Regions from separate parts of the Homo sapiens genome. Here all the other regions are linked to region 2. The links are contacts of gene promoters, found by promoter capture Hi-C in blood cells and fetal thymus (Javierre and others, 2016). All regions are on one chromosome and are shown on one strand. The core of a region is centred on a gene start or on the middle of the fragment in contact, and the rest is flanking DNA. Distances in the headings are between cores, read along the strand shown.

Region 1 (2,891 bases), core at 373-2,872, 250 kb after region 2:
TGCACTTATTTCCTATTTCTTAGCCCACTTTTATATCTGCTTTGCCACTGAACTCTAAGGCTCTTGAGGGCTAGGACCACGGCATGTCTGCATAGTTTCCTTAACATTCAATCTGATTCCTGACACAGAGCAGGCAGGCATTATTCAGAGCGGTGGAATAAGTGAATTTCATAGATTTGTAACATCTAACTTTTTTCTGGCTGTAATAATGCACTGCTTATTAAGTATTTTACTAATCTTGTTAATTTTAACAACAATCTCACAGATATTTTATAGAGGAGAAAATAGGTTTCCATAAATTTAGTAACTTACCCAAAAGTCACAAAGTATGATTGGCAGGCTTATCAAAATGTTTAGAGAAAACAGGAAAGTCGAAAAGTATTCAACAATATTGAATTTGCTTTATTAAGTGAGCTGGGCCGCCAGATATATTGTTATATAAAAAGCTTCTTTTATATATGCATATATATTAAGAACTACTTTATCACCAAAATAAATACCAACAAAAACAACAATCTGATTAAAAACTCAAATTGTGGCTGGGCGTGGTGGCTCATGCCTATAATCCTAGCACTCTGGGAGGCCTAGACAGGCAGATCACTTGAGGTCAGGAGTCAAGACCAGCCTGGCCAACATGGTAAAACTCCATCTCTACTGAAAATACAAAAATTAGCCAGGCGTGGTGGCACACACCTATAATCCCAGCTACTCAGGAGGCTGAGGCAGGAGAATCACTTGAACCCGACAGGCGGAGGCTGCAGTGAGCCTAGATCACGCCACTGCACTTCGGCCTGGGTGACAGAGCAAGACTTCATCTCAAAAAACAAAAAAACCACAAATTCTTCCAGTTGACTACTACTATCCTATTGTGCCCTGCTATTAGCAGGCTGGGATGTACCCTTTTAGATTCCTCTGCAATGCACAAATACGCATACACTTTTTCTTACATTAATGGGATGGTACTATACATACTGTTACATGTCCTACCTTTTTATTCAACATATATCAAGAATACAACTTTCCAATTTTAGAAATGTTAAGGATATCTTGGCCGGGCGCAGTGGCTCACGCCTGTAATCCCAGCACTTTGGGAGGCCAAGGCAGGTGGATCGCAAGGTCAGGAGTTCAAGACCAGCCTGGCCAACATGGTGAAACCCCGTCTCTACTAAAAATACAAAAATTAGCTGGAGTGGTGGTGCGTGCCTGTAGACCCAGTTACTCAGAGGCTGAGACAGGAGAATCACTTGAACCCAGGAGGTGGAGGCTGCAGTGAGCCGAGATGGCGCCACTGCACCCCAGCCTAGGTGACAGAGCAAGACTCTGTCTCAAAAACAAAACAAAACAAAACAAAACAAAACAAAAAAGCAGCCGGGCGCGGTGTCACGCCTGTAATTCCAGCACTTTGGGAGGCAGAGGCGGGTGGATCATCTGAGGTCAGGAGTTCAAGACCAGCCTGAACAACATGAAGAAGCCCAGTCTCTACTAAAAATACAAAATTAGCCAGGGTGGTGGTGCATGCCTGTAATCCCAGCTACTCGGGAGGCTGAGGCAGGAGAATTGCTTGAACCTGGGAGGTGGAGGTTGTGGTGAGCCAAGACTGCGCCATTGCACTCCAGCCTGGGCAAAAACAGTGAAACTCAGTCTCAAAAAAAAAAAAAAAAAAATTCTCATAGTAGGAAAACCCTATTCTACCTATGTACACTTTCAAGAGTCAACATTACCCACAACCCCTCCCAAACAGAACCTCATACACACGCTGATAGCTTTACCAGTTTACCGGTAAGGCAATACTTCCTTTCTTTTTTCTTTTTTTTTTTTTTTTGAGATGGAGTCTTGCTCTGTCACCCAGGCTGGAGTGCAGTGGTGCCATCTGGGCTCACTGCAAGCTCCGCCTCCCGGGTTCACGCCATTCTCCTGCCTCAGCCTCCCAAGTAGCTGGGAATACAGGCGCCCGCCAAGACACCTGGCTAATTTTTGTATTTTTTCTAGAGACGGGGTTTCACCATGTTAGCAAGGATGGTCTTGATCTCCTGACCTCATGATCCGCCCGCCTCAGCTTCCCAAAGTGCTGGGACTACAGGCATGAGCCACCATGCCCGGCCTACTTTCTTTTTGAGACAAGGTCTCACTCTTTTGCCCAGACTGGAGTGCAGTGGTGAGATCACAGCTCAGTGAAGCCTCAACTTGCCCAGCTCAAGTGATCCTCCCACTTCAGCCTTCCACGTAGCTGGGATCACAAACACACACCACCACACCTGGATAATTTTGTATTTTTGTGGAGGTGAGGTTTCGCCACGTTGCCCAGGCTGGTCTCAAGAGATCTGCCTGCGTCTGCCGCCTAAAGCACTAGGACAAGAGGTGTGAGCCACTGGGCTCAGCCCAAGTCAGTACTTTTTAATGTCCTATTTTTTCACTTAATCCTCTTCCAACTCTATATTCTATGACTTGTTCTTCAACGCCTTAGAACCTAAAAAAAGCCCTTTTATCACAGCACTGAAATGCACTATTTTTCCTTGGAATATTATGAATATCTCATCTACCACTTTTCCCCTCATCTCTTCTACTAATTATTCCTGAAAGCCAGATAGGTTACAACAGCAAACAATTCCTTTCTCTGCAGGAAGGGTAAACTGTACTAGCTTTGTCCCCCACTGAAGTATAGCCATCAGTGCTATAAGCACCAAGTTTTCTAGCACTTGAAAGTCCCCAGCTGTGCAGTGATTCAGCAGCTACCCAATCTAATGCTTTTTTCTTTTGAGTGATGCTTAGATTCTCAAGGTATTCAAGCTCTAAGCTTGCTATATCTTTTCTGAGATTTAGCATAACTGATCAAATATAGGAATAATTAATCTATTTGATCTTAAGTGAAACTACACCTGCAGAGCTGGAAT
Region 2 (3,164 bases), core at 85-2,584:
TGTAGCACAATGTTCGAATAGTGAGCACTCAATCAGTGCTGGCGATTGGTTATTTAACACCACCTGTTTCTGATCTTGGGGTGCCATTGTTCACATCTCTCCTTCTGATGTCTGTTCCATCCAGGATCCCCCTTGCCAGCCCCTTCTTCCAACGCCACCAACCCCCCAGCACATGGGGGCATGAACCCACACCACACATCCTGTCTCTTCTTAGAGAAGATATCTTTTCATACAGCGGATCACTCCAGCCATGCAGCTCCCCTCTGCTCTCAGGGCACTTATACTGCACTGGGCTAGGATGCTTAGCTGCCCGATTCGGCACGGTGCTGGCCAGGGGGCATGTGCTCATTTGCTCAATGTGCATGTCCTGCCTGACTGCTCTGCTGGGCACAGGGGCTGCCCCTGGGAGGTTCCCTACTCTGCAAACAAGTGGCAGCTGGGAAAAGCACTCCGGGAGGAGGCAACTACAGGAGAAGCAGGGAAGCCTGGAGTTGTAGGTTGGGGGAGAAGCGGGCAGAGGGGCTGGATCTGGGGGCCTGGCAAAAAGGAGAAAAGTGGGAGGTTCTTTACTTCCCAACCCTCATCTGTCCCAACAAGCCCCTAGTGCAGCAGGAAGGCTGCTAAAGAGTCCCTGTCTGGGAGACCTGACCTCTGGGCCCGTTCTCCGGCTTTGCACGTCCCAGGGTCTTGGTTTTCCACTCTAAACAGCGGCAGTTGGTCTAAGTGTTTTCAGAAGGCCCTTCCATCTACAAAGGATCATGAGCCTTGAAACCCAGATACCCGAGGACCACTCCCGGCCCTGGGTTTCCTCCAGCGTGGGGTCTGCCCAAGCACTGAGATCAACCCCCAACCCCAACCCGCTTGTGATGACTGACGGCCTCCCCCACCAATGCTGCTACAAGGCCGAGCCAGGGGGCGGGGCAGACAGGCCCGAATTCACCCCCTACTTAAATTCAGCCCAATCAGCGTCGAGTTCTGCATGTGAGCGGTAGGGGCAGTGGACGCTGCCCTCTGGGCATGCGCAACCTCTCGCCTAAGGCCTCCTCCCGCCTCGCATGCGCACCACGCCGCAGAGGGGGAGAAGGGTAGGGTAGACACGAACCTTGGTCCCATCTTGAAAGTCCGGGAGCTCTCCTCGGCCTTCCTGTATCACACGTTTTTGGATCCCGTCCTCCCGGAGTCTTGCGATGATATCCGCCATCCTCCTTCCCCGCTGCTCCCTTTCGGCAACTTCCGGACTCGCTCGGTAGCTTCCGGACTTGCTTCGGCAACTCCTAGCACCTCGGCAGCTTCCGAGCTAGCGCCATTTTGGTTGAGGGCAGAAGCCAAAAGGGACTGAGCGTGGAAACGGATGGTGATTGGTTCTCTGCGCTGGGGCTGAGCGCGCGCGTCTGCTCGGGGGCGGAGCCTAGGAATGTCTCGGGGCTGGACCCCAGCCTGTCAAGGAGGAAGGGCCGGGGTCCGCGGGCCGGGCGGGACGAGGACGTCCCTAACAATTGTCATTGAATTGATTGGGACTGCGGCCGTGTGGCACTTTGTTTGAAGTTGTGGATGGAATATAACAGCACTGCAGAGTTAGGAAAATGAAAAAAAAAAAAAACACCCGTAAGCCACACCCTCAAAGTGTTATGATTTTTGTGTATTTTCTTCCGGCTTTTTCTCTTTCGCATATCTAGTATGATTGTCGGGACTCTTGCATCCTGGATCTTCCTCTTTCAAAAAATAAAAAGAGGAAGAGGGAAAGAAAGGTGGAGAAGGAGACCAAGAGAGCCCATTGCGGGGTCGGAAATGAGTCATAGTTGTGCCCAATTAATATTAGGGAATAATCGATGAATGATAGAAATGAGGTACTTTAGCGCCGGGCGCGGTGGCCCTGTAACCCCACCACTTTGGGAGGCCGAGGCGAGAGGATCGCTTGAGCCCAGGAGTTCGAGGCTGCAGTGGGCCGTGTTCGTGCCACTGCACTCCAGGCTAGCCGACAGAGCGAGATGCTGTCTCAAAACAAAACAAAAAAAAAAAATTAAATTAAAAGAAAAGAGAAATGAGGTACTTTGGGGCTAAAACAACTTTTGTTTTTCTTTTTTTGAGACGGAGTCTCGCTCTGTCACCCACGCTGGAGTGCAGTGGCACAATTTCAGCTCACTGCAAGCTCTGCCTCCCGGGTTCACGCCATTCTCCTGCCTCAGCCTCCCGAGCAGCTGGGACTACAGGCGCCCGCCACCATGCCCGGCTAATTTTTTGTATTTTTAGTAGAGACAGGGTTTCACCGTGTTAGCCAGGATGGTCTCAATCTCCGGACCTCGTGATCCGCCCACCTCGGCCTCCCAAAGTGCTGGGATTACAGGCGTGAGCCACAGCGCCCAGCTGATATGAAACATTCTAAATAAAATACTAGGCTAATTGAATTCACTAATGTCATGTAAAAATGCATCAGTATGGGGCAGGTGTGGTGGCTTATGCCTCTAATACCAGCACTTTGGGAGGCCAAGGCAAGTGGATCTCCTGGATCTCCTTGAGCTCACAAGTTCAAGACCAGCCTGGACAACATGGCAAAATACCATCTTCACCAAAAATACAAAAAATTAGGTGGTGTGGTGGTGCACGCCTGTGGTCCCAGCTACTCAGCAGGCTGAGGCTGGAGGATTGCTTGAGCCCAGGAGATGGAGGTTGTAGTGAGCCAAGATCGCACCACTGCACTCCAGCCTGGGTGATAGAGTGAGACCCCATCTCAAAAAAAAAAAAAAAGCATCAATATGCTAAGTGAAATAACAGTACCAGTCACATACAGGAAAATACTGTATTATTCTACTTATGTAAGGTACCTAGAGTAGTCAGATTCACAAAGACAGAAAGCAGGGCCGGGCGCGGTGGCTCACACCTGTAATCCCAGCACTTTTGGAGGCCAAGGCAGGCAGATCACCTGAGGTCAGGAGTTTGAGACCAGCCTGGCCAACATGGAGAAACCCCATCTCTACGAAAAATACAAAAATTAGCTGGGTATGGTGGCACGTGCCTGTAATCCCAGCTACTCGGGAGGCTAAGGCAGGAGAATCGCTTGAACCCAGGAGGCAGAAGTTGCATTGAACCAAGATCGCGCCACTGCACTCCAGCCTGGGCGACAGAGCAAGACTCCATCTCAAAAAAAAAAAAAAATGACAGCAGAA
Region 3 (2,822 bases), core at 283-2,782, 170 kb after region 2:
TGGTGAAACCCCATCTCTAACAAAAAATACAAAAATTAGCCGGGAGCGATGGCACACGCCTGTAGTCCCAGCTACTCAGGAGGCTGAGGCACGATAATCGCTTGAACCCAGGAGGAGGAGGTTGCAGTAAGCAGAGATCACGCCACCGCACCCCAGCCTGGGTGACAGTGAGACCCTGTCTCAAAATAAACAAACGAACAAAAAGCAAAAAACCGCCCTGCTTAGGAGAATGAACTTGCCCAGAAATAAAGTGAATTCAAAAATTAAGAAAAGGTCTTATGGTGGCTAGGGACTATTGTAGAAATTATCAGAAACGATAGTTGGGACCTGGGATAGCAGTTCCTCTATGCAGTCCCTGGGCTAAAAACTTACATGCGTCATCTCATTTAATCCTCAAAAACCTGAGGTAGTATTAACATTATCCCCAATCTTGCAAATGAAGAAGCTGAGTCTCAAGAGATGTCCTAACTTTGCCCAAAGTCACAAACCCAAGTTTCTCTGACTCTAGATCCCAAGCTGAGAGTCTTGCTCAGATCATCCCAGGTCCCCTTCTTTCTTCTTGCACTTGGGGTGCAATAAGGGGCAATGGGGCCAGCAGTGTGTAACATACTGCACCGTAGGAAGAGACGTTAGGATCATCGGTCTCAGCCTCCGTATTTTACAGAGGAAGGAACTCGTAGGTCACACAGAGCCAGGGGGCTGCTCTGCAACAGAATCTCAATGGACACTAGAATTCCAGTCCAAGCCCCATTTTACAGAGCGTGGGAACTGAAGCCCACCGGGCCTGGGGGCCTCCCGGGTTCCGAATCCACCAGCGGCTGAGCCAGATCCAGCCCCGGGCGCACTCACTGCCCTGTCTGATTCTACCTCCGCGTTCACCTGCGCCGCGAACCCTCCCCGTGGGCTGCCAGCGCCCGGGAGTACCTGTCGGCCGCGCGCAGGCCCTCGGCTCGGGGTGACAAGACGCTGGCGCGGGCAAGCGGGGCTTCGCGGGCCACAGCCAGATCTCGGCCTCGAGGACCCGGGTCGCCACGCCAGCCCCTTTCCTCAGAACGCCGAGGCCTCAGGAGCGTGTGCGCGCCGGGACGCCCCAGAGAATTTGGAAGCGCTGGTCCCGGAGGCAAGGCCGGCTTGGTCTCCTCTCCTCAATCCCCCGACGCCATCCCCTGGACCTTCTGCAGACCGGGTCCCAGCCCCAGCGCACCTCAGGAAGAAACAACACCTTCGCGCTTAGCTGAGTCAAGCGGCCAGGACTCTAGAAGGGGCGAGGTTCCCATGGCAACGAGGGAAACTCTTTGCGCCTGCGCAGAGGCGCTCGGCACGCTGGGAAATGTGGTTTCCGGGTTGTCCCTGGAGGCTAAGGGAATGGACACAAGGTGGCGCGCGAACGTTGCGGTCGATGTGGCTAAGCCCGGGTCCCCAGCTGCCGGGCGCTGCGGGCGCAGGAGAGGCCGCGAAGGTCTGAAAGGTAGTTTCTCTGAGGCGTCTGGGATGCGGAGTGAAGAGAAGGAGGCACAGTCTCTTCAGCGCGGTTGATTTTGCCGTTTGAAAACTTGGCCTAACAAGCGGCAGCCCTGGCTAGGGCGAGGGCAGTTGCTTCCGAGGCCCCGCCCCAGCCTGGGCTGAGCCGGGAGCGGCCGAGGGAGGGGGCTGTGACGGTGGGAGCTGGTTCCGGAGGGAAGCGCGCGACGGTCGTGCTGCAAGCGTTCCAGGTCCAGGCTGGGCGACCCCTCGCGCTGCTGAGAGGCTCCTATGCCCGGTGGGAGTTGAAGTCGGGCTCCGGGAGCAGCAGTCATCCTGATCCTCCCACCCGCGAGCTCCAAGCACTTCTGGATCCAGGTCCCGCCTTGGGCGGAAATGTGCAGTCAGTTGACTGCCCAGGAGCCACCTTCCCCGCTCCCGCGTTAGTCTCTTGGAATGAGAATCTAGAAACCTAGGATCTGATTCCGGCTCTGTTAGAGATTAGTAGTTACTTCTCTGAGCCTCAGTTTCCTCATTTCTAGAAAACGATGGTATTGGGGCAGGCGCGGTGGCTCACGTCTGTAATCCCAGGACTTTGGGAGACGGAGGGGGTGGATCACCTGAGGTCAGGAGTTAGAGACCAGCCTGGGCAACATGGCGAGACCCCCTCTTCTACTAAAAATATGAAAATTAGCCAGCGTCGTGGCACAAAAAAAAAAAAAGAAAAGATTTTTTTTTTTGGAGATGGAGTCTCTCTCTGTCGCCCAGGCTGGAGTGCAGTGGCACTATCTCGGCTCACTGCAAGCTCCGCCTCCCGGGTTCACGCCATTCTCCCGAGTAGCTGGGACTACAGGCGCCCGCCACCATGCCCGGCTAATTTTTTTGTATTTTTAGTAGAAACGGGGTTTCACCGTGTTAGCCAGGATGGTCTCGATCTCCTGACCTCGTTATCCACCCGCCTTGGCCTCCCGAAGTGCTGGGATTACAGGCGTGAGCCACCCCGCCCGGCCACAAAAGTGCTTTATAAAGCATTACCTGGAATGGGGGCGGGGGGGAGCCCTCAGACAACCTAAATGTTCATCAATAAATGACCACTTAACTGATGGATTCCATAAAATAGAACATGTGTGGTTATTTTTTAAATGAGGCAAATCTTTTATGTACTATTTGGGGGGAAAACTCAAATGGCGTTTTTCCTCTGCTCTCACACCATCACAATTATCAACACGTAAGACTTTGGTGACCAAAGATATTGGGTTGGCCAGGCGCAATGGCTCACGCCTGTAATCCTAGCGTTTTGGGAGGCCGAAACGGGTGGATCACCTGAGGTCAGGAGTTCGAGACCAGCCTCGCCAGCATGG
Region 4 (2,737 bases), core at 180-2,679, 230 kb after region 2:
AAGCAACAATGGCATGGGACTGCTGCCCTACACTGCCCTCCAGTGATGCTAAGAAGCACTGCCAATAATGCAACTTTTCTTGCCCGCTTCTTCTGGGCCCCTGGAAAGACAGCGGCAGGGCTGCTCACTTACCTGGCAGCCTATTGACGAGCCATGTCAGTTGCTTTTTAGAGATGTTGGTCCAACTGAGGTCAAGGCTGACTGGCTGCCTCTTGATGATGCCACTGAGGGCCTGGGGCACAATGGCCTTACACCTACTCAAGTCAATTTTTGTCCAAAGTCTCTTGTCGCAGCACCTGTGATAGAAGGGAAGAGAACTCGCCTTCATTAACTTGATCAGTGGAGCTCCCATCACAGGCTGCTTATGGCTTCTGGGAAAAGCAGAGTACCTGGAGGCTCGTTCTTCTACAAGTGTACAGGGATCACACCTTATCATTTTTTGCCTCACAGAATAGGCAAAAAATTGCCTTGAACTCTACAACAACTAGACGCTTTGCAAACCTACATGTTGATAGTATATAACTTGACCACTTTACCCTGATTTATTCTGGAGTGTTTGAGAACACAACAGTTGTTAGGGACCCATAGCAAGCAACAGTCTATAGCCCCTTCATCTGTATTAAAATGGCATGGTTCCTGCTGAAGTGTATATAAGGGAGCCTCTTGAAGTTTCTAGACTTCTTACTGTCTAAAGCTAAGAAGGCCTGCTCCGTTCCCTCCCTTGTCAATCACTCGCAGCTGCCTGAAATGCAGGGTGCTACTCAGCACATCCACAATTCACCCTGCCTTCAGCCCATTACTGTATCAGGTCAAAAGAGGCTCTTTATCAGGCTTACAGAGTCCTCTCTCACCCTCAAGTTCTGCCTCAGTGCTATCCTGACATTTTCTAGCCAGGCCAGACCAGAACTGAAAGGGATAGGCCTGGCTTTCCACTGCAGTCTACAAATCTACAGGCCACAAACCACAACATGCTGGCTTCAATTTAATATTTTATAGCCCCTGCCCCCCAGCCTGGTTGGCAGGGGAAGAGAGACAGCACATAACGGGAATCTGATGTGCCTTGCCCTGAAAACCAAGAGGTAGAGCCAAGCAGTCCTATTAGCCCTAGACAGAGAAATATTAAGGAGAATTTAGATACACTATACATTAATTCAGATTTGGGAAATAAACTCATGTTTGCAAAGAATAGGGTCTATTTAGAGACTGAAACAATTTTACCAGTGGCACATGAAGCTTCTATGGCAGAAGCAAGCTGCTGACAATACAGCAGATTTTGCTGCTCTAAACTCGAGCATGCATCAGAGTCCCCTGGAGGAGCGCTTGTTAAAGCAGACTGCTGGGCCCACCCAAGAGGTTCTGATTTAAGAGGCCTATGAGGGTCCTGACAGTTGACATTTCTAAAAAGTTCCTGAGTGAATGCCATTGGTCAGGACACCACACTACTGTAATAGGATGTGTGTGACCCAGATAAAAAGGATATATCCTAGAGTAAATATATACCAGAGTTTAAGGAAAAACCAACAATGCCCAATGGGAAGCTCCTTGTTCATCATCACTAGCAATTTTTTCCCCCAAGTGTCTGTCCAACTTAAGAAGAAATGGTAGCTCTCATTAAGGAAGCTTCAAAACTGGACTCTGCTTGCTGGAAGAGGGAATTCTGATCCAGGTTTGGGGGGATGAGCATTAAAACTGAAGAAAAATGTTAAGCACCTTCAAATTCATCTTGAAAAGCATGCCCACTTCTCTCACTGAATGGAGAGGTAATTGAGTCAGGGGCTTAAGTGAGGTTATCTGTGTTATCAGCACCAGAAGAGTGACTAGAACATCATAGGCTCTCAACCAACATGTGATGAGTTCAGCTGACTTGAGGAGGAAATTTTCAGCCCGCAAGACTCTCAAGTTTTATCACAGACTACAAATCTATCCCGCAAATCAGTCTCCCTCCCCATAACAATGAGACATGGGAAAGTATAGAGCAGGGCCAGGAGGCAAATGGCCAGTTCCCTAATGACATCTGCGGGTACAACAGGCTACATCTTTAAACAGGACCCAAAGTTTGGGAAAAAGGGTCAATTCACTCCTCATAAGACCCCACAGGCTTTCAGATGCCAAGGTGCATGCTGTTCTCATATGGAAAACCTGCCACCTACTCCCATACCCCTAATTCCTGACCCCCTGAATCCCTGCTCACCATTTATACCACGTCTTGCACACTCGCATACATTCACAAAGTTCTCTGCGGCTGAGGTAGCGGAAGACAGACATCCAGACCTCCCGCTGCATCCAGCTTTCGTCTCCATCCTGAGCCCAACTGCCCCGGCCATTCAGCCTGGCTGCACCCCCCTCCTCTGCACTGTCATCTTCCTCCTCCTCCTCCTCCTCTTCCTCCTCCTCTCCCCCCAGCCCCTCCTCATCCCCACGCTGGGGGGTTCGGGCTGGGCAGTGCTGCACTAGCACACGGGGGGAATGGCGAAGGTTGGCAGAGGAGGCCGTGATGGCCTGCAGCTTGGGCACAATGGATGTCCCGTGGAGCTCTTTGGTGGGCCTCTGTAGCGTGACAGTGAGGTACGATCCCCGGATCTTGGCTTTCTCAACTTCAGACAGCTCCTTTTTGCCGCTGGGATTGTTCTCCTTTTCCCGTACCATGGTGCGCTCTGTGGCCTGCAGCCGCAGCAACTGCCGCCGTTTGAAGCGCTCATCGCGGCTGGCACTGTGGTGGTCGCTGGGGCCAGCCCCA

Evidence for each region. The method cuts DNA at HindIII sites, captures the fragments that hold promoters and counts their contacts. A CHiCAGO score of 5 or more calls a contact.
Region 1: a fragment that was not itself captured here is called in contact with the fragment with the promoter of AIP in region 2 in 2 of 17 cell types (naive CD8 T cells and total CD8 T cells); the score reaches 5.3 in naive CD8 T cells.
Region 3: a contact is called between a fragment that was not itself captured here and the fragment with the promoter of AIP in region 2, in 2 of 17 cell types (naive CD4 T cells and naive CD8 T cells). The highest score is 5.3, in naive CD4 T cells.
Region 4: a contact is called between a fragment that was not itself captured here and the fragment with the promoter of AIP in region 2, in 6 of 17 cell types (total CD8 T cells, naive CD4 T cells, activated CD4 T cells and 3 more). The highest score is 8.1, in total CD8 T cells.

Annotation. Positions count from the first base shown.
Region 1 is chr11:67,234,076-67,236,966 of GRCh38, reverse strand. The region is part of intron 12 of KDM2A (lysine demethylase 2A); the gene reads right to left. Among named protein-coding and RNA genes, the nearest start is that of GRK2, 31 kb to the left of the region's middle. The HindIII fragment of the contact is 2,348 bases long and covers 449-2,796 here.
Region 2 is chr11:67,481,196-67,484,359 of GRCh38, reverse strand. It overlaps AIP (AHR interacting HSP90 co-chaperone), which reads right to left and starts at 1,334. Exons shown (of 6, transcript NM_003977.4): 1 at 1,103-1,334. The coding sequence starts at 1,201. RefSeq lists an enhancer at 1,433-1,492. The HindIII fragment of the contact is 11,146 bases long and covers 1-3,164 here.
Region 3 is chr11:67,316,300-67,319,121 of GRCh38, reverse strand. LOC100130987 (a long non-coding RNA gene) reads right to left here and starts at 1,283. Exons shown (of 4, transcript NR_024469.1): 1 at 925-1,283. RefSeq lists a silencer at 863-912 and enhancers at 1,133-1,562, 1,603-1,652. The HindIII fragment of the contact is 3,873 bases long and covers 1-2,822 here.
Region 4 is chr11:67,250,253-67,252,989 of GRCh38, reverse strand. KDM2A (lysine demethylase 2A) reads right to left here. Exons shown (of 21, transcript NM_012308.3): 17 at 2,192-2,737; 18 at 133-296. Among named protein-coding and RNA genes, the nearest start is that of GRK2, 15 kb to the left of the region's middle. The HindIII fragment of the contact is 387 bases long and covers 1,236-1,622 here.